Regions from separate parts of the Homo sapiens genome. Here regions 2, 3, 4, 5, 6 and 7 are each linked to region 1. The links are contacts of gene promoters, found by promoter capture Hi-C in blood cells and fetal thymus (Javierre and others, 2016). All regions are on one chromosome and are shown on one strand. Each heading gives the region's core, a stretch centred on a gene start or on the middle of the fragment in contact. The rest is flanking DNA. Distances are from core to core; before and after follow the strand shown. Region 1 holds the start of MAMLD1 (mastermind like domain containing 1). Region 2 overlaps EOLA2-DT (EOLA2 divergent transcript). Region 3 overlaps EOLA2-DT (EOLA2 divergent transcript). Region 4 overlaps EOLA2-DT (EOLA2 divergent transcript). Region 5 has its middle 92 kb from the start of EOLA2-DT. Region 6 has its middle 110 kb from the start of EOLA2-DT. Region 7 has its middle 130 kb from the start of EOLA2-DT.

Region 1 (3,020 bases), core at 357-2,856:
GCGATGTCGCTCGCCGGCTCACCGCAACCAGGGAACACAATTCCCCAGGCGCGGGCCGGGGCCGCTGGGGGCGGCGCAATTCCCGCGGGGGTCTACCCCGGGAGACCCAGGCCCTCTCCCTAGCCAACTCTTTCAAAATTGCTTGGTCTCAGGGAGACTTTGCGCCTTTGTTCCAGCGCAGCCGCCTCTAGTAAGCTCGGCTCGCTCGCCCTTGCAGACAATGTCCCGGAGCCGGCCTGGGTTTGCCTACCCGTGAGCAGCACGTTCACCGTGGGGACCGCGCCCCCGGGGGGCACCGTGGTGCCAAACAACAACGACAAGCCACCCCAGCAAAAGCAGCCCCTTCTCCCCACGTCCCCCAGCCACGCTGTGCTCCCGCCCGCTCACACACACCCACACTCCGGGTGCCCAGGTCAGCCGCACCCAGCTGCAGAAGCGCGGCGGGGCGGGAGTGAATGCTCCAGCCCGAGGCGCGTGTTTGCACAGGTTCCGATGGCTTCAGGGCCGAGCTTTCTGGCAGGCTAATCCTATTAGTGTCTGCTCAGTCCGAATTTAATCACGGATCAGAATCAGACGACATCTCCAGCTTTCCAGGAGGCTTCGGACACACTGCATTGGGACGGAGCCTGGCCAAGCCAACTGGCCGAGAAAAGTATTTGGCGGCGCTCCGGGGGGCTTCCCGCCCGCGCTAGCCGGCGCCGGGCGCCCAGCTCTGTCGTCGCGCGGATGCTGGGGAACCTGAAGCGCGGACTCTGACGCAGGGGCGCCGGGGCTGCTCCGCAGGAACCCAGTCCGGGCTGCCCTGAACACCAGCTCAGCTCCGGGCTGCGCTTCCCAGGAGTTGGCAGGGGAGGGAGTGCAGGGCAGCGGATTCGGCGCGCACACTCCACACTCTCGCTCAGAGGCGGCAAACAGCGTTGGGGTGGGGAAATCCTTCATCCAGCGCCCACTGCCTACTGGCCTGGGCTCAGGCAGCTGGCATGTGAAGGCACCGTCGCCGGTGACACCCAGGCTGCAAGCGACCCGGGGGTGCTGGGACAGAGTGGGAGCCTCCCAGTAGCCCAGCGTAGCCCGAGGAGCTTGCGCCCTTCTACCTTTCCTCCCCGGTACGTGGCTGTCCCCGCCGGATTTCAGACGCCCGACGGGCGCCGAGCCAAAGGCCGTGGTCTCCGGCGTTTCGAGCTGCGCCCAGCCCAGCCGGGCTGGTTCGAGAAGGGGGTGGCCGCCCGCAGCGCCAGGTGGGCCGTGTGCTCAGAGCAAACTTTAGGGTCTACCGACTCGAAGCACCCCTGGGACCCCGATCCTCAGCGATGGGGACCATAACTGGGGGCTACAAGTGTACCCCGGAACCCCCAGAACAGTCAGACTTCCTGCACCCGCCCTCAGCCTTACCGTGCTGCAGAGCTCCGGCGGCGGCGGGGGCAGTGTCCGAGGGGCGGGCGGCCGCCGGCGCGGGCAGCCTGGACTCAGGCGGCCGCCAAGGAACCCAGCCCTGTTGCAGATCACCCCCTGGCTAGCGGCCGGTGCCCCCGCGCCCGCCCGCCGCCGGCCGCTTCAGCTCGCGGCCAAGTTCATGCTGGCGGCGCTGCAGTGGCGGCCTCAATCTGCTCGCTCCATTCCCACCGCCCGGCTCCGCGCCGCGCGCCCGGAAGGTGGAGTTTCGGGGGTTTAAGTTACTGATAGGCATTTCTCACTGCTGTGTCACTCGGGGAGGAGGAGACACGCACGCCGCACACTCACACACCCTCACACTCACGGCGACGAGCGGCTCCGGCCTTAAAGGGGAAGCCGCGCTGCCCTGCCCGCGACCCCGCCAGCCCGAAGCCTGGAAACTCAGGGTTTCCACTCCGGGATGGGGCAGCGGGCAGCCAAAGAGCTGCGGCCGCCCGAGGGGCCTCCCGGGCCCTCCCACCAGTCTTTAGAGGAGAAAGCGGCCGCAGGCTGGCTTCGCTGTTGCAGCCTCATTTCTCCAGTCGGCTCGAACCAGGGCAGCTGGGGAGGGATCGGAGGGGCGGAAGGGGCATCGGTGCACTCACCTTGGCTGCTCCGCACTCAGTGGAGGGTGGTCTGTGCCCCCGGCGTCAGCTGGCTTGCCTAGGCGGTGCGCTGGTGGAAAGAGGCGACAGCAGGGTTAGCGGAGCGCCTCCAGCAGACAGAGCCCGCCGGAGGGCCGCAGGCGGGGCCCGGCGCGCTTGGGAAACCCGCACGCCGAAGGTAGACTTTCCGCGTCTGGGGAAAACGAGCTGGTGAGCCGTGCGTGGCCGGGACACACGAAGAGCGAGCACGGAGAGCCAAAAGCCAGCGGTCATCAGTGACAGGGCGAGAGAGCGCTCAGGACCGAGAGACCAAGAAAGACAGGAGACCGTACGAGACACAGAGAAGGCAGAGACTGAGAGACAGATACCGAGAGAGGCACCGGCGGAGATAGAGGTAGAGACACGATGAAGGGAGAGGAGAGGAGAGGAGATGAGAGGAGAGGAGAGGAGAGGAGGAAATAAGGAGAGGAGGAGAGGGACCAGAGAACAAGAGAGCTTGCAAGAGGAATGACAGATCCCCAGAGGACCCTGAAGTGTCACAGGGACGGGAGTCTCATCACAAAGTAGCCTATTCAGCCCCCATCCCCCTTCCCATTTTCACCAGAGCCTGACCCTAGGGCTAGCGGCCAGGCCCTTCTCCTCCCCTCGCCCTGGGAGGGGCACTCACCTGCAGTGGGTGGCTGCTGGGTGGGTAGCGCCAGTCCCTCCGCCCACGCATCCGCTCACCAGCTCGCGCCCTGACTGCCAAACAGACCCGCTGTGGCGGCAGCGGGGACCAGGGCTCTCAGGTGGCAGTTAGTGAACTGCATTCTCTCCATCCCGGCCGAGTGCCCCACTCCCCACTTCCCAGTCCCCCACCCTTAGCGCGGACGCTGTCGGCGTCGCCCGCCAGTACGCTTAGCTCAGAGTCCAGGCTCGCTGGCCAGTCTCCCGTTCCACTGGACCAGGGCACGCGATGCTCCCGCCCAAGCTGGGCTGGATTGG
Region 2 (3,020 bases), core at 241-2,740, 390 kb after region 1:
ATTTTTTCATGTGTTTTTTGGCTGCATAAATGTCTACCATTTGACCCAGCCATCCCATTACTGGGTATATACCCAAATGACTATAAATCATGCTGCTATAAAGACACATGCACACGTATGTTTATTGAGGCATTATTCACAATAGCAAAGACTTGGAACCAACCCAAATGTCCAACAATGATAGACTGGATTAAGAAAATGTGGCACATATACACCATGGAATACTATGCAGCCATAAGAAATGATGAGTTCATGTCCTTTGTAGGGACATGGATGAAATTGGAAACCATCATTCTCAGTAAACTATCGCAAGAACAAAAAACCAAACACCGCATATTCTCACTCATAGGTGGGAATTGAACAATGAGATCACATGGACACAGGAAGGGGAATATCACACTCTGGGGACTGTGGTGGGGTTGGGGGAGGGGGGAGGGATAGCATTGGGAGATATACCTAATGCTAGATGACGAGTTAGTGGGTGCAGCGCACCAGCATGGCACATGTATACATATGTAACTAACCTGCACAATGTGCACATGTACCCTAAAACTTAAAGTATAATTAAAAAAAAAAAAAGAAAGAGCAACAACAGGTTTCTGAGTAAATTAAGAGTATAAACATGAGCTCTTAGGGGATGTTTAACCCAGTTCAGAGAACAACTCTTTCCAAGCTCTCTAACAAATTCATTTGCATATAAATAATTAGTGTGCTGATTTCAAATGACCTTTACCTACTCATTGGAGTATACTCGATCAAGACCTCTACTTGGCAATATTTTGTTAGCTTTTTATAATATCATTTCTGCTTGAAAATAAGAAAAAAATTATTATTTTAAAGAGATCTCATTAAAGAACATTAAGAAAATGTCTGTCCATAAATGCCTCATGCAGTAAGACATGAGGCAGTTTGCCCCATTATTCAGGGTATATAAACCAAGTCTCCACTTAGGATCCAAAATGCCCAGTACTTTAAGAGAGTCAAAGGGAAAGACCATGCGCTTGTATTGCTTTTACAATTTAAAAAATCTACTTAGTGTAGAAAATTTCAGAAAATAGGTAGATAAGTGTTCTAGTAACTCAAATTCTATCTGAGCCTGAAAGGTAACTCAGAGGTCATGCAGGATGACCCAACCCCTGACAACAAAACGCTCAGCATATGCCCAGAAACCTGGCTTTTGCTTAAGGATATCCAGAGCCTCAGAGCTTCCCATCTCCCAAAGCTCTTCCCATCATCCAACAGTCAAAGTATTAGTCTTTCCTTATATTGGACCAAATCTGTCTCCCCGTAATTCCTACATATTGGTCCAAGTTTCTAGGGGAAAAAAACAAAACAAACAAACAAACAACAACAACAACAAAAATGATGTTTCTATGGTTCTTTACACAGCACTTTCCACATACACATTCTCATTGGACTATCTTAATAATCCTGTGAAGCAGTTATTCCTACTACCCTTGTTTCACAGATGAAGACCTGGAGGCTAAGAGAGGCTCAGGAACTACTGACGGTTGCAGAGTGGTGAAGTGTCAGAAGCAGGGCTTGAACTCAGGTTTTCTAACTCCACCTTTTATAGCATTTTCAGTATCCCTTGTTGCCTCAAACATTAAAAAGAGAGAGAGAGAAATACGCTGCTTCTGCTTCCCCATGGGAACAGCCTTTGAAGTCGAAAGGGGGTAGAATTATTGAAGATGCACTCTCCACACATTCTCTCTGAGAGATGTCTTACTATTCACTTGGGTTTAAACTGCCCAGACATAGAGGCCTTGACCTGTATTTCCAGCCTAGACACATCCTGAGTTCCAGAACAAAATAGCTGCTCTCCCCTCTGGAAGTCCCACAGTACCTCAAATTCAGCAGGTTCCAAGCTGAATTTATCCAATTTTTTTGTACATTCTATCTCCACTGTTCATTCCTGAACTTGGTCAAAAATACCACCATCTACTCAGACAGCCATGCCAGAAACCTGGAGAATTACCTTAGACACTTTTCTCTCCCTCACCAATCCTCCCCACAACATCGTAAGAGTTTCACCATTTTGCATCTGCCTCTTCCTCTCTGTCCTCACTGCTACTGCCTTATACAGTCCACCATATCTCTTAGATGAATTCAGTGACCTTCAAAATGGTCTCTAGGCGTCTAGTAGCATCCCTTTCAAATCTACCTGCCTCCATGTAGACTGTCACCAGAGTGATGCAACAGGGCAGTCTATGTCACTCATTGCCTCCACATGTGACTCTCAAATCTAGCTAACTAAGAAAATGCCTGTTCCCCAGATGATTTCAATAATTCAGCAATGTGTAGTAACTAATGGTGTACAAAGCAAAGTCTACGTACTCAATGATCTGAATCTCACCTACCTCTCTAAGTCATCATTTCTGCCATTTTCCCCTTGGCAAGGAATACTCCAGCAATCCTAAAAACATACCATACTGGTTTGCACCTCTGTGCCCTGACTGGGGCTGATCTCTCAGCCTAGAATATCTTTACCCTTGGCCAATCTCCAATGAACCTTCAAAACTTAACTGAGGTGTCACTTCTTCAGGTAGTCTTTCACAACATTATCAGACTGGATTAGGTGCCCCTCCGTATGACTCCACGGCATCACACAAAGTTCTCTATCATGACACTTAGCATATTGTGTTGAAATTATTTGCTCATATTCTGACAAGCCTATAAGCTCTCAAAACCAAGGAACATGTTTATTCATCACTGATAAGTACCTGTCACTTAGTAGATGCTTAGTAAATGTTCACCTGAAATGGATCTAATTTCAAGTGTAGGCTCCATACTTGGCTAACTGTAGAGTTGAATTTTAGGAAACTCAATTCAGCTGCTTAGACCTCAGTTCGCCAAACTGTAAAATAGGCACAATAAATCCCCACGTTTGGCCAGGTGTGGTGGCTCATGCCTATGATCCCAGCACTTTGAGAGGCTGAGGCAGGATGACCACTTGAGGCCAGGAGTTCAAGACATGCCCGGGAAACCCTGTCTCTACAAAAAAAAAAACAGCCAGGCAT
Region 3 (3,020 bases), core at 157-2,656, 370 kb after region 1:
CCTCACAGCTCATTGGCCAGACCTAATCATATGATCCCACCTAACTATAGGAAGCTTGGAAATTAGTCTTTCATGCTTTCAGAAGGAGAGAATCAGATGGTAGTAAATACTAGTTATGTCTATGCAAACTGCATTTATCAAAACATCCAACTAAATGTTCAGCTACATATGTAATGGAAAATAGTATTCTTTTAGCAAGGGAAAAGAAAACGGCTAGGATAGATAACTAGCAGTGTCCATCATATACCCTAATCTTAAGATGAAGAATGTGAGACTTAGAGAGGTTTAGTAATGGATTAAAGGTCATATAGTAAGAAAGTAGTACACTCAAATTTGAACCCTGGTCTGACTCCAAAGTCTATAATCCTTTTGCTCCAGCAAACTGCCTCCCAAAGACAGGAAGAAATTGTTTTGTGATCATCCACCACTCAGAATTATCCACAATGGTCCACAAAGTCTATAAAAGAGAACTTAGAGCTAGAGCTGGCTACTGACCACTGCTGCATCATATAAAACCAGAGATGTCAGAACAGGAAGGAGTTCTTACATGACAGACCAGACCACCTATCGCCACCTTAGTACTTTTCAGATATGGAAACTGAGGCCCATGATGTGGAGTATGTTGTTCAAGAATACATGGATGATAATGAGACAGTGCTACCATAACATTTGTATCAAGCAGGGTCTTGGCAGGAAACACAGCACATTCAAAAGGTGTAACTGAAGGTAGGGGCAGGGTTAAGGGAACCTATAAGGTAAGGTGCATTGGTCCTGGATCAGTAGCAGGAAGAAACCACTACCATCTCTCGACCTGAAGTGAGAAGGAGAGTAATGGTTACCAGAACCTGGTAAAAGCTGAGGCTGTCAGAGAGGGACAACCCAACACAAGCTATGGCATGAAATAGTGGAACACAGCCACTGCCAAATGTGACCTGGCAGAGAAGAAGCTGGAGAAGTAAATACTGAGATCTGGCTTTCCTCTCAACCCTCTGATCCTTTCTCCCTCCCCCACTGATACGTTGCATTGTCAAACCTAACTGGAAGCCAGAGGACAAGGGAGCCTGGTTGATGCAGCCCATAGAAGTCAGTCTCCAGGGGCCCAGAGCAGGGTAAGGAAGGGTAGAGAGTGCAGCTGGAGTGGGAAACTCAAGAGTATCCATTATGGTGACTTTCCTTTCTTTTCACTGATTCATTCATTTATTTATTTACCATGCATAGTGTCAGAAAGTGCTAAACACATTTTAATTTCCATCAACATTCAAGTTTTGTCTTTAAAATTTGGTGGTGAAAGCATGTCATCTATCCAAGTATAAGGCTAGTTTTATTTCAAAGAACAGGGGTAGATTTTAAGGCCATGCTCAGTTTAGCATGAGGTAAAGAAAACTACATTTAAAAAATTCTACCACAGCTTGACTTCTGGTTAAACATGGCAGACTGATAACACATGATTATCTCTCTCCCTCCCGAAGTCTCATTAATGGAATTAAAACAATGCAAATAAAAAGTGTGTGTGTGTGTGTGTGTGTGTGTGTGAGAGAGAGAGAGAGAGAGAGAAGAGAAAGACAGAGAGAAAGAGGTGTTAAGTCCACGCAGACTAAGAAAACAGGGAAGGAGACATTAGTGGACAAGAATTATCCATAAATGTTTCGAAGACAGGAAATGATGGGAAGAACGAATATTTATTTCAGAGAGTAAAGGAAAAGCAAGTTAGAACCTAAGTGCTTGCAGAAAGACATGCCAATGAAAAGTGAAACAATTAGTCCCCATTGAATCCTGGGAAGGCTTAAGGGTTTAGAAATACCAAGTACCACAGAAATTGGGATAAGACACAGGAAAACAGGAATTAAAACTCTGTATAGGGAGCAGCAGGCTCCCATATATACTTTTCAGCATGCAGCTACCTAGATAACTATTTTATCCTCTCCCTTTGCCCCCAGGAAACAAGAGAGTTCCACTCTTCAATATGAATAGACAGCCAAGGATCACAAAACATTTGAGGAACTCTTCCAATATGAGAGAAGTCAAAACAAACAAACAGAGAAAACAGAGATGATACAATAACAGAAGAAAACTTAAAACTATAATTAATATCCTCAGAGATAAGAGAAAATTTATATCCATAAGCATAAGCAGGATACTACAAAAAGGAAGACACAGAAAACAAAGGAATTTAAGGACACTGAAAATATGATAATCAAACTGCAAAAAAGTAAAAGGATTAAAATAAGAAAATCTCCCAAAAAGAAGAACATAAAGACCAAGAGAGGAAAAGACAAGAAAAGCAGAGGAACAATATGGGAGGTCTAATATCCAAATAATTGAAATTTCAGAAAGAAAAAACGAAGGGGAGAAAATTATCAAAGTCATAATGTAAGAAAAATAAGGACATAAATTTCCACATTTAAAGCTCCTAAGGAAGGATCAGTAAAATGAATGCATAAAGATCTATACCAAGTCACACTGTCAAAACATGTCTGAATTATAAGGGCTAAAAAAAAAAAGAACCTAAAAGGTTTCAGAGCAAAGGAAAAAAACAATGCTTATACGGAAGACTCTTATACCAGAACTAGATTGGCATCAGCCTTTTAAATAACAACACTGAAAACGAGGAGACAATGGAGCAATGCCTTCAAAATTCTGCGAAAAACCAATTCATAATTTTATACGCAACACAGCTATTTATTTCCTTTGGCAAAAATATAATTTTACCTGTGGAAGGATTATTTTTATTTTCCAGGCTTATTGACATCAAGCTTGGCCATAAGACTTGATTTTCCAATGACATGTGAACAGAAGTGATGTGTACCACTTCAGAGCAGCAGCTTTGACAGCCAACACTGATTCAATCAGTGCTATTTTTCCTCTGCCATGAGAACTGCTTCTCCTAGAGAGGGGCTGCTCCCTTAACCTAGGTGCCAGAGTGAAAAAGACCTGGCTAGAACTACTGCTAACCCATGAAAGACATAGGATACCAGTAAGAAAGAAATCTTGTATAAGCCATTGGGATTTTGGAATCATTT
Region 4 (3,020 bases), core at 304-2,803, 360 kb after region 1:
CATGCACACGCTCATACATGTGCATGCACACACATAAACACACACAAACACATTGTCTTAGTTCATTTTGTGCTGTTCTGACAGAATACCACAGACTGGGTAATTTATAAACAACAGAAATATGTTTTCCACAGTTCTGGAAGCTGGAAGTCCATGATCATGGTACCAGCTGATTTGGCATCGAGTCAAAGCTGTCTCCACTTCCAAGACGGCTTCTTGAATGCTACATCCTCCAGAGGGAGAAACACTATTCCTCACATGGCAGAAGAGCAAAAGAGCTGAGAGGGAGAGAGCAAAAGGGGGCCAAACTTGCCCTTTTATAACATACTCACTCCTACTCAACAGCATTAATCCACTCATGAGGGCAGAGCCCTGTCGATCCAATCACCTCTCAAAGGCCCCACTTCCTAAATATTGTCACAATGGCAATCAAATTTCAACATGAATTTTGAAGGGGACAAACAACATTCCAACCATAGTGCATGCACGCGTGCGTGCATGGGGGTGTGTGTGTGTGTCTGCGTATGGAGAGAGAGAGAGAGGGAGAGAGAGAGATTTTTTTTTTTTTTTACTTGGGTAGGATTTTTAATAACAAATGAGCAATATATTTTCAGCAGGCTATATATATGCTGTAAGATAAGCTTTATAGAAGCAGTACACTTTGTATCTTATGTTGACTACTAATAATGATTTTCATATAAAAGCACAGCAAAGCGATCCATGTACAAAGTAATATAACCCACTTAAAAGACTGCACAAGCAAATTAAAATAAATGGGGAAATTTCTCAGGGAATAAAATTTCTTGAAGATTAGAAACACTGTTCCTCAATAAATAAGCACCCCTGGAATGTTTAGCACAAAAACTCTATGCTTGATCGTTTTACTATTTCAGCAGGACTGTCAGAGAGGTTGGTCTTTGTGGAGTCCTGTTCCTTTCAGGTGTTAGAGATTTTAAGGAACTAGTTCAGATGATTGTGGGAGATGGTAAGTCTGCACATGCAGACAGGCTAGAAACCCGGGTAAGAAGTGATGTTACAGTCTGGAATCCAAAATTTGCATGGCTGGTCAAGCAGCCTAGAAACTCAGGCAGGGTTTCCATGTTACGGTTTTGAGGCCAAATGTTTTCTTCTTTGGGAAACCACATTTTTTTTTTTTAATCTCAAAGCTTTCAATGAATTGGATGAGGCCCACCCACATTATGGAGGGTAATGCTTTACTCAAAGTTTGCTGATTTAAATGTTAATCTCATCTAAAAAAATCCCTAAACAGCAATATCTAGACTAGTATTTGACCAAACAACTGGGCACCATAAGCTAGTCAAGTTGACACATAAAATTCACCATTATTAGTGTCCAAATATGGTCTGCCTTTGCTGCTCACTTAGGTCATTTACTCTTCTCCTTTGAACTGGGTTTACCTTGGACTAGCTGATACTGGCTTTGCACCCTTTGCCTGGTCCCTAAATCCTGTCATACCTTATAAGAATAGTCCCACACATTAGGTCTGCTCTTCTTCTACCCTTTAACTGCTTCCAGAATAACTTGAGTCTAAGCTACCAGACAAGCAACAGCAGGCACCAAACAAAAAGAAGCCAGTAGCCCCTGTACTCTAGGTCAGGAAATTCCTCTCCACTCAGGAAATTCCTCTCCTTCAAACTTCCTCATGCATTAGCTCTGCTGGCCCCGAAGTACTTGGCTTTGTGTACTGTCTCGCTGGTCTCATCTAGCTCCATGTCAAGCTGTTTGCCTTCACTCTGACCTCAGGATGTTGATCCAAATCTTCTCTGTCCACCAATGCTGGGAAAGAAGTCCCATGTCTGTAAACTCCATCCATCTGGGAAGGAAGACTAGATAACCTGTATGATGCATTACAGTTCTTAAAACACTTTCACATACACTACCCACTAACCGGTATTCCTTGACATTGTCTGAAAGCTTATAAAGATATCATCCACAAAACCTCACTTGACATGTAAGAAAATTGAGGTTCAAAAAGTGTAAGTCCTCAACACAAGGACATGTAGCTAGCCAATACACGTGACCCTGCTATGGAGCTGAAGCTCTGGGTCATTTCATTAAGCCAGAAGCACCTTGGCAAGGAGCTGAATACTACTAGACTAAGTACTACTACTACTAACAATGCCACCTTAGATTCATATGCAACTTAGCTTCCAAAATGATCACACAGGCATTTCTCACCTTCACCTAATTTTCTCAGGGTGGCTCAAAAATTCCCAACAGCATCCCTCTACCTACTGTAGGCTACAAAGACACAAAAATTCTCCTTCATCATCCATCTCAGAATATTAACTTGAAATTAGCCTACAAGGTCATCAAAAGCAAAGTTTTACAAGGTTGTTCATTAACTGGTGCATAGTGACTGAGAAACTAGACACAGTAGCTTTCATCTCAAGGGATGGGCCCACAAACCTGGCCCAGGCAGGGCAACCTGGCCCAAGGACTGCCCATATAGTCTTCACAAGTTATAACTGAAACTTGGCTGGGACTAGAATAGACCAGCCTGGGGAAATCTAAAACATAGAGACTAGGCAGGCCCATTATGGCTTTGAGGTTAGGGTCTCCAATAAGAGATGAGAAGTAGAGACTAATAATCTGTGTTGTGTAGGCCCAGACATGAGTTAGAGGGCAATGTCCCCACAGAGCAGATGAAGCACACCTTAAGAGGGTCTGGTAATAAGCAGCAGGCAGAGGTCCAGGCAAGGCAGGCCAGCAGCCTCACTGAGGATCAACAGTAAGCAACAAAAGGCTATGCTGGCTAGTAGGCTATGAGACATTGTGGAGTCTTGGACAGAAGCCTTAGACAAATATCTCCATGGATAGGCAGATGAGTGATCCCAGAGAATTCTGGCAGTGGACAAGCACAGACCCCAGGAAGACTGAAAAGGACAACAGAATTTCAGTCCTCAGTGGAAAAAGACACCAAGTACAAAGCCAAGGTAGGGACCAGGCTCTCTAATAATTAAAGAAAGTAGGTAGTAGACAGATAATGAGCTCCTGGA
Region 5 (3,020 bases), core at 326-2,825, 330 kb after region 1:
ACTAGGGAGTAGGAGAGTATAGTGGAAACCCATGAGGCAGGACCAAATGAATGAGGTAGCAGTGGTTCTCAGCTCTGGCTACACATTAGAATCTCCCAGGAGGCTTTCTTTAAAAGTTTATTTTGAAATAATTTTAAAATTACAGAAAAGTTGCAAAAACAGCAAACAGTTGCTGCACACACTTCATCCAGCATTCTTCATGTCAACATCTTTTATAACCATCAGAGTTATCAAAACTAAGAAATGAACTTTGGTACAATATGATTAACTAAACTAGATTTTATCTGCATTTTACCAGTTTCTCCACTACATTGCATTTTCTGTTCAGGGTCAAATTCAGGATTTCACATTGCATTGTCTCCTCCAATCTATGGCAGTTCATCCATTCTTTTATGTCTTTGATAATCTTGACACCTTGAAGAGCACTGATCAGTTATTTTGTATAATGTAGCTCACCAGTTTTCCCATTAATGTCCTTTTCATGTTCCAGGATGCAATCCAGAATATTATGTCACATTTAGTCATCATATCTTATTTGCTTCCAATCTATGGAAATTTATTAATGTTTCCTTGTTTTTCATGATCTCAATAATTTTAAAGATAAATGGTCAAGTACTTTGTAGAATACCCCCCAATTTGGGTTTGTGTAATGTTTTCTCATAATTAGACTGGGATTATATATTTTGGGGAAGGATAGCACAGAGGTGAAGTGCGTTTCTTATGACACAGTATAAGGGGTTCAAGATATGAACATAAACTTACCAGTGATGTTAGTCTTGATTCCTTGGTTAAGGAGATTTCTGCCAGGTTTCTCCACTGTAAGCTACTTTAAGAAGTATTTTATCGATATAATTGTAGAATCAGATGAAGTTGTAAATACAGAGAGGTCCTGTGAAACTCTCACTCAATTTTTTCTAATGGATACATCTTATGTAACTATAGTACTATACCAACATCAGGAAATTGGCATTGGTGCAAAGCATATGTGTAATTCTATGCCATTTAATCACGTCTGTATTCTTGTAACCACCACTGCAATCCAGAAATGGAACTATTCCATCACCACAAATATCTTCCTTATGCTACCTCTTTATAGTCACAACTCCCCTCACCAACACTGCTAACCTTTGTACAGCACCAATCAGTTCTCCATCTTTTTATCATTTTTGAGACTATTATATAAATGGAATCACATACTGTCCTTACAGTATGTGATTGTAAGGACAATGGCTGTGCTGCAGTCAAGTATAGGCTGAGGTACACATCCTGCACAGTATGACACAGTGGGATTGGAGCACAGGCGCACAATCCCATGCATTACATAATCACAGCTATGTAGCCATAACGTGGGAGGGCTCATCACCTGCCTCTGAGCCATTATGGTCTGTGAGGTGCATAAATGCAGCACCGACAGTGTGAAGAAACTGCTGAATAAAGCCATGTCCCACCTACCTGGAACCTAACAGTGACCTTTTGAGATTGCCTTTTTTCATTCAGCATAATGCCAATGAGATCCATCCAAGTTGTATATATCAGTAGTTCATTCTTTTTTTTTAATCACTGAGTAGTATTCCATGGTATGGATGTACCATAATTTTTTTAACCATTCACCTATTAACCAAACACCTGGGTTGTTTCTGTTTTTTGATCATTGAAAACAGCTCTGCTATGAACGAATTTCATGTACAGGTTTTTGTATGGATGTATGTTTTCATTTCTCTGAGATACACACCCAGTAATATGATTGCTGAATAGTATAGTAGGTGTATTATTAGTTTTGTAAGAAACCACTAAACCATTTTCCAGAGTGGTCATACTATTACCCATAAGCAATGTGGAAAGATCCATGCATGGAGGTATAGTAATATCACATTATGGTATTAACTTATATTTCTTTAATGGTGATGTTGATTGAACAACTTTTCATGTGCCTATTTGTCATCTGTATATCTTCTTCAGTGAAATGTCTGTTGCTGTTTGTTGCTTATTTTCTAATAGGATTTTTTTTACTCTATTGAGTTTTGAGAGTTATTTATATATTCTTTGTTGGATATGATTTACAAATACTTTCTTCCAGTTTATAGCTTGTATTTTCATATTTAAAAGGATGTTTCATAAAAACTTCCACAGAAAGTTTTTAACTTTGATGAGTTCCAATTTACCAATTACTTTTTCCTTTTATGGATCATGCTTTTGGTGTCAAGTCTAAGAATCTGTTGCCTAGCCTTAGAGCTGGAAGATTTTTTCCAGTTTTCTAAAATATGTTTAGTTTTATGTTTTAAAAACTTACATGATCCATTTTGAGTAAATGTCTACATAAGGTGTAAGGCTTAAGTTGAACTTTGTTTGTGTTGCCTATGAATATCCAGTTGTTCCAACACAGCACCATTTGTTGAAAAGTCTATCCTTCCTTCATTGAATCACCTTTGCATCTTTGTTAAAATTCAGTTGGGAATATTTATGTGGGTCTATTTCTGGGTTCTCTATTCTGTTCCATTGACCTATATATCTAACTCATCTGGCAATACTGCATGGTCTTGGTTACCACAGCTATGTAGTTAGCCTTAATGTTAGGTAGACCGATTCCTCCAACTTTATTACTCTTTTTCAAAATTGTTCTAGTTATTCTAGGACCTGTGTCTTTTCATATAAATTTTGGAATATTACTCTGATTTAAGTTCTGACAAGATCGTGGAAATCATCACTCCCATCCTTACAAGAAGAAGCTGGACAAACTTAAAATCAATGACTTTTCATGAATCCTTCAGACAAATGAGGTTGTAGGGCAAACCACCACCCTGAAATCTAGAGAGTCAGGAACATCCAGAGAGACATAGCTGCAATTTGCTTGCTTGGACCAGAGTCACTGGAGTCACAAACTAGGAATACCAAAACTGGTAATTTTAACAAATTGCTGCAGGCTGAGTGTAGACTACTATGAGAATGACAAATTGAGGACTGCAGGCATAGGGAAAACCCCAACATTTTGTTGTCTTTACCTTCAAAAAAATCCAACAAGT
Region 6 (3,020 bases), core at 142-2,641, 310 kb after region 1:
ACCTCCTATGTAAAGTGAGGAGATAATATTGCTGCCTCACAGGATTGTTGTGAGGACCAAAAGAATTAGTGTATGCTAAATACTTACCAGTGTCCATACAAGTGTCTTCTTGTGCTATTGTAATTATTGTTATTATGTTGGTTATGCTGTATTCCTCAGCACTGACCATTTTCTAGAATATCACCGAGGCACCTAGGTCTGCGTGGAGAGTATTCTTCTCACCTTCTTGTCTGCCTTTGCCTGTAACAATGCCACTTTCCCAAGCCTGGGTCCTGGTTAGTGGCCATATCCAATACCAGGGGTCAGCCCTCTCTCCTCCCTGACTGGCCTGCTTCTGCCATTGAGGCCATGATTTCAGGTGCACGAGTCCAATGTTAGGACAAACAGCCACTTCTAAACCAAAGACCAAGTAAGCAAACCATTCTCTTTTAGGCTAGGAAGTAGGAGAAAGCATCATCAGTATGGTCTGAGAAGCAGCAGTCTTGGAGGAGTGAAGCAGACATACAAAAAGCTTGGCTGTGTCTATGGCAACTAGGTGCAGTTGTACAACCTCCCAAAGGCTAGAAAGCCCACTTCCCTTGATGGGAGGGCTGCCCTGGGAAGTGTTGGCCAACAGAACAGGGGTTGCTTTGTGGGGGATGGGGACCTGCCAGTGCAGCTCCTGACACACCAAAAGCGAATCCCAGCATCTCAGAAACTCAGCGTCACGTTCCAAAGAGAGAAAAAATGGCCTACCAAGAGCACTTGTTTATTGCTCAGAACCCTGGTGTAGCCCAGCTCTGCATATCTGCTGGCTAAGAGAATGTTTGACTAAGGGATGCACTCAGAGCTCATTTAGCCAATGAGCCTTTCTTCTACTGGTGAGAAAACTGAGGGCTTTTTCTGCCCTCTGCATGGCTTTTTAGAGGGGTTGCTCTAACCACATACCATACCATGAGCTTCACTCAAAACTCGTTGCAAACAATGCCAAGCCTTGGAAACTGTACCAAAGCACTCTCACCTTCCTGTGACTCACAGTGCTTGCTTTATTCCGCACTCACCTGACCAGTCATCTCAGTGACTGCTGATTTTGGTTCCTCAGTTTGGGCAATCCACTTGGACTTCCTCTGGCTTGTAGACTTGAAAATAAGTCTACAAGCCAGAGAAAGGCTTGAAAAATACCTGAGGGCTGTCCCTCAGGTATTTTTACTACCCTGGCTGTGCTGCCTCAGCCTGTGTCTGTAAAGAGAATCTCTCCTTCAGCCCAAGCCAGATCAGTCCCCTCATCTGCCTGCCCCCCAACAGATTTTAGATCTTGGGATTCAGACACTATGGCCCAGAAAAATAATGATAGTAACACAAGCTCCTTGTCAGAGGTGAGATATTTTGTAACCATTAAAATAAAGAACAGAAGAATGCTGGTTCAAATCTCAGCTCCAGCTCTGCAGAGCTACATGAGTCTGAACAAATTATTAAACCTCTCTGAACCTCAAATTTCCTCCTCCATAAAATGAAGACTAAATGTAATATTGTATGTACATTCCTGGAAATAGAAAGTGATCACTAAACTGTAGTTAATATTAGTAGTAGTAACAGATAATCTAATAACCTGTGCTTCTTCGCTATCTATCAAGCTGGTGCCACAGAGCAATTGTTCAGTATGTGTTGAGTGAAAAAGATGTTTCCCTATTCAACAGGCACAACCACCAGGTGGGGCAGGTAGAGAAGACTTTGGTCTCCCCAGCAATGGAGACCTGAGTCTGAATGGTTAAATGACTTGTCTCAAGTCACAATTACTGAGCAGCAGAGCTTGGATTGGGAACTTCTGTTTCTTGACTCACTGTTTGTTGTTTACTGTTTTAATTTGCCTGATCAAATTTAGGCCAGAGAGGAATTTAGAGATTATCTAGCATAATCTCATCATTTCAAGGTTAGAAAACAAGCCAGGGAAATCAAGGATGTTTCCCCTAGAGCTAAAGAGCTAGTCAGCTGGGGAGTACAGCATAGATCTCCTGACTCCAGCTTAGTGCTCTGTCAATAATGTAACAGCTTACTTTGCAAAAATCACCTCTCTGTTTGTAATTCAGCAAACACAGTCATTCTAGGTGCAGAGCTGCTATAGCTTTCTAGGAAAACACCCAAATGGTAACTGCAAAGGCCTTCTGCAATAACAGGCCCACCTTCAGTGTACCAGATTCATTCTTCATGGAAAGTGCACCTTTGGTGTGACTTGAAGGAATGTGTCAACATGAAGCCTGGTGACAACCAAGTGTGCCAACAGCCACAAGCTTCGTGGTGTGGAGTGCCATCTTTGAAGCAGACCCTACAATACCGCTGGTATGTAAAGCATGAGCTATGAGAAACAGCACCACTTGGCAGTTCCTTCTAAAGTAATAAAGACAGTTAAATGAGGCCCAAACAGCACAGGATATTATTGTTTACATGCAACCCTTATCCCATGGCTGTAGGAAATGGAGCCAAATTCCACAAGCCCTTTCATTATAAGAGTGCTCTGCAAGACAGAGGAGGCCAGCATTGCTGCTTGGTCTGCTGTTCTTTCTTGAAGTCAGCTTCATTTGAGAATGAAAAATGTTGTCCTTAGAATTCAAACTCCACAAAGGCACAATGCAGTACAGAAAGATAATGTTTTAGGATAGATTAATAATATTTATGAGATCTTTTAAATAAATTCCACTTAATTGACATGCACCAGCTCCTCCTTTCCAACAAAAATTACTTCTCAAAGAATTAATATATTAAGTTTTTACTCTGAAATAGCTCTTAAACACTCTTTCTTTTCATTGGTTTCTCTGTTTTCCTTTTTTTTAAATAAAATGCACATTTGTATTGCACAGCTTTTAAGATTTCATTTTCTTATAGAAATGATTTCTGAAACAGATATTAGAATTTGCATAAAAAAGCATTTAAGTTGTGAAATATGTTATTTATGTTTTCCTTATATACACTTTAAATTGCTTTGGAAAGAAATTTTTAAAATATATTTAAAGTGCACCTATTAACACACTAAATTGGAACTTATT
Region 7 (3,020 bases), core at 353-2,852, 290 kb after region 1:
GTCGGAAAAGTATTTATTTCCTCTTCATTTTTGAAAATGATTTCATTGGGTTTAGATTTCTGATGACAGTTTTTTCCTTCAGTACATTTATGATGTCACTACATTGTCTTCTAGCTTGCATGGTTTCTGGCAAGAAGTCTGATGTAATTCTTATCTTTATTACTCATTGCACCATGTCTCTTTTCCTCTGGTTGCTTTTAACATTTTTCTTTATCCACAATTATTTTTCAATAATTTGATCATGATGTGTCATAATGTAGTTTTCTTTACATTTATTTTGTTGGAGTTTGGTGAGATTATTGGATAAAAGAATATTTAGTTTTCATAAAATTTAAACATTTCCCAGCCTTACTTTTCAAATATTTTTCTGCCCTCTCCCCCTCCTGCTGCTCCAATTATGCATGCTAGATCCCTTTATGTTGCCCCACGTCACTCATGTTATGTTCTTTTTTTTCAGTCTTTTCTGTCTGTTCATCATTTTGAGTAATTTTTATTGCTATGACTTCAAGTTGACTAATCTGCTGCAGTTTCTACACTGTTAATCTCATCCAGTACATTTTTCATTTCATATATTGTATCTGTCATCTCTACTAGTTTGATTTTGGCTTTTTTATATCTTCCATTTTTCTCTTAGCCATATCCATGTTTTCTCCACCTTCATAATCATATAGAGCATATTTATAAAAGCTGTTTTAACTTTCTTGTCTGCTAATGCCATCATCTCTGTCATTTCAAAGTCTATTTTTATTGATTGTCATCTATCCTGGTTAAGAATCATATTCCACAGGTTTTTTTTTTTGCATGGCCAATAATGTTTTCTTGGGTGCTGTACAAAGTGGATTTTACACAGTTGGGTGGTGGATTTTGTTGCATTCCTTTAAATATTGGTGGGTTTTGTTCTGGGATGCAGTCAACTTATATGGTATCTGATTCTTTCAAGGCTTACTTTTAAGCTTTGTTCAAGGCAGGTCCATAGCAGCCTTTAGTCTACAAATAACTAAGCCCTACTACTAAGACAATATCCTTTGGAACATTGTAGTTCCTACTCCAGGTATTACAGGTCTATTCCCAGACCTGTGTGAGCCCTGTTAATTTTTCAGTCTATTGTTTTCTCATGGTCTATCACTGCCCAAGGGTAGATTTTTTTTTCCTCATACATGAGCTGCAGGTCAGAATTCAGCCAAAGACTAGAGGGGACCCTCTGCACATCTCTGGAGCTTTCTCTATACAAATCTTGCTCCCTGCAATTTCCAGCCTTCGTGGTCTCCCTGGACTCTAATCTTTGTCTGCCTTACTGATCAAGAGCTCTAGGATTGGTTTTGGTCCTCTCTTTCTCTGCTGCAGCCTAGAAAATTACTCCAGGCAATAAGCTACGAAAATCATAGGGCTCACCTTACTTGTATTCTCTCTGTCAGGAATCACCATCTTGTACTTTTGTACTGCCTGTTGTCCAATGTCTAAAAGCCATTATTTCATATTTTCTCTCTGGTTTTCTAGTTGTTTAAGATGGAAGGTAATTAGTCCCTGATATTCTATCATGGATGGAAGAGAAAGTCTCCTATTATATTACTTTTTAAATATTCTTCCAAGCACAAAATGTTTAATACTTTAAAAATATACTTTTAAAAAGCATTTTTATTCCTCACAATATTTGGTTTTGCTACCATACATCTGAGCATCAAGAAAATAATGCTCTAGACCAGAGCTTCTCAACCTCAGCACTACTGACATTTTGGACAGGAAAATTCTTTGCTGTGGGAGGCTGTACTATGCACTGTAGGATGCTTGGCAGTTATGACAACCAAAAATATCTCCACTTATTGCTAAATTTACCCTGAGAGATCAGGCAAAATTGCCCTTGGTTGAAAACCAAACTTTCAATATTGTAGCAACCCAGAAACACACCCCCTTTTAAATAAAAGTTAGGCAGCCTTAAAAAAAAAATAACAGGGGCATATTGAAAGGACACAGGAGCCAACCTGAGAAAGTTCCCAATGGTCAAAATTGCAGCAATTTGAGCAACGAGCAATAAATATTGAGAGTATTAGATTATACGTTAAAGCATAAAATAAAATTTATGAATTCATTCTGATATAAATAATCGAATGAATAAGTGAATGAGAGAGAAAAATTCCAATTAAATAGATGTAGGAGGGATGAAGGAAGCAATATCACCATTAGAACACCACAGTGATAAATGCCACAGGAGGAATCTATCAATGGATGTGATAATGAGTGAGCAAAAGCTTAAGCAGAATAGGATGTTTGCGTATTCTCAAAGTATTTTTCCTAAAATATTTAGTAATTAACAAGGTGGGGAAGAGGGAATTATAAGTTGCTGGTAGGGAATCCTGGTAGAAATCACTTTAGCCAGGTGATTAAGGTTAACATACCCAGTAATACATATGAATATCATGTATCCCCTGATACAACAGAGTGAGAAAGGCACATCACCTCTGTGGTGGCCTTCCCAATAATGTATAACTTCAATCTAATCACGAGAAAAAAATCAGACCAAATCAAATTTGAGGCACATTCTACAAAATAACTGATGGGTGCTGTTTTGATCAAGTATCATAGACTGGAGGATACTTAAGGAGATATGATGACTAAATGCAAAGGGATATGCTGGATTGGATCTAAAATGGAAAAAAGACATCAGTGGAAAAACTGGTAAAATCTAAATAAAGTCTATAGTTTAGTTAATAGTATTGTACCAAGGTTAATTTCTTAATTTTGAGAACTGTACCATGGTTATGCAGAGGTTGACATCGGGTAAGCTGGCTTATGGGTGTGCTGCAGTTAGTTCTCTGCAGTGTTTTTGCAACTTTTTCGAAAACCTAAAATTATCTCAAAATAAAAAGGTTTTAAAAATTTGAGCATCGAGTAGTGATTCTCCCAGCATGCAGCTTGAGATCTGAGAATGGACAGACTGCCTCCTCAAGTGGGTCCCTGACCCCTGAGTAGCCTAACTGGGAGGCACCCCCCAGTAGGGGTGGACTGACACCCCACACGGCCGG

The links. Contacts are between HindIII fragments. The CHiCAGO score rates a contact against its expected background, and 5 or more counts as called.
Region 2: a fragment that was not itself captured here is called in contact with the fragment with the promoter of MAMLD1 in region 1 in 7 of 17 cell types (M1 macrophages, M0 macrophages, megakaryocytes and 4 more); the score reaches 15.8 in M1 macrophages.
Region 3: a fragment that was not itself captured here is called in contact with the fragment with the promoter of MAMLD1 in region 1 in 3 of 17 cell types (M0 macrophages, endothelial precursors and M2 macrophages); the score reaches 6.9 in M0 macrophages.
Region 4: a contact is called between a fragment that was not itself captured here and the fragment with the promoter of MAMLD1 in region 1, in 3 of 17 cell types (M0 macrophages, M1 macrophages and M2 macrophages). The highest score is 7.4, in M0 macrophages.
Region 5: a fragment that was not itself captured here is called in contact with the fragment with the promoter of MAMLD1 in region 1 in 1 of 17 cell types (M0 macrophages); the score reaches 5.0 in M0 macrophages.
Region 6: a fragment that was not itself captured here is called in contact with the fragment with the promoter of MAMLD1 in region 1 in 2 of 17 cell types (M1 macrophages and M0 macrophages); the score reaches 7.9 in M1 macrophages.
Region 7: a contact is called between a fragment that was not itself captured here and the fragment with the promoter of MAMLD1 in region 1, in 2 of 17 cell types (M0 macrophages and M1 macrophages). The highest score is 6.4, in M0 macrophages.

What each region holds. Positions count from the first base shown.
Region 1 is chrX:150,361,903-150,364,922 of GRCh38, reverse strand. It overlaps MAMLD1 (mastermind like domain containing 1), which reads right to left and starts at 1,606. Exons shown (of 8, transcript NM_005491.5): 1 at 1,393-1,606. The HindIII fragment of the contact is 7,703 bases long and covers 1-3,020 here.
Region 2 is chrX:149,971,376-149,974,395 of GRCh38, reverse strand. All of the region lies in intron 9 of EOLA2-DT (EOLA2 divergent transcript), which reads right to left. Among named protein-coding and RNA genes, the nearest start is that of EOLA2-DT, 34 kb to the right of the region's middle. The HindIII fragment of the contact is 3,804 bases long and covers 1-3,020 here.
Region 3 is chrX:149,988,251-149,991,270 of GRCh38, reverse strand. All of the region lies in intron 9 of EOLA2-DT (EOLA2 divergent transcript), which reads right to left. Among named protein-coding and RNA genes, the nearest start is that of EOLA2-DT, 51 kb to the right of the region's middle. The HindIII fragment of the contact is 2,699 bases long and covers 57-2,755 here.
Region 4 is chrX:150,006,188-150,009,207 of GRCh38, reverse strand. All of the region lies in intron 9 of EOLA2-DT (EOLA2 divergent transcript), which reads right to left. Among named protein-coding and RNA genes, the nearest start is that of EOLA2-DT, 69 kb to the right of the region's middle. The HindIII fragment of the contact is 769 bases long and covers 1,169-1,937 here.
Region 5 is chrX:150,029,285-150,032,304 of GRCh38, reverse strand. No RefSeq gene overlaps it. Among named protein-coding and RNA genes, the nearest start is that of EOLA2-DT, 92 kb to the right of the region's middle. The HindIII fragment of the contact is 9,213 bases long and covers 1-3,020 here.
Region 6 is chrX:150,049,258-150,052,277 of GRCh38, reverse strand. No RefSeq gene overlaps it. Among named protein-coding and RNA genes, the nearest start is that of EOLA2-DT, 110 kb to the right of the region's middle. The HindIII fragment of the contact is 1,756 bases long and covers 514-2,269 here.
Region 7 is chrX:150,071,489-150,074,508 of GRCh38, reverse strand. No RefSeq gene overlaps it. Among named protein-coding and RNA genes, the nearest start is that of EOLA2-DT, 130 kb to the right of the region's middle. The HindIII fragment of the contact is 1,293 bases long and covers 956-2,248 here.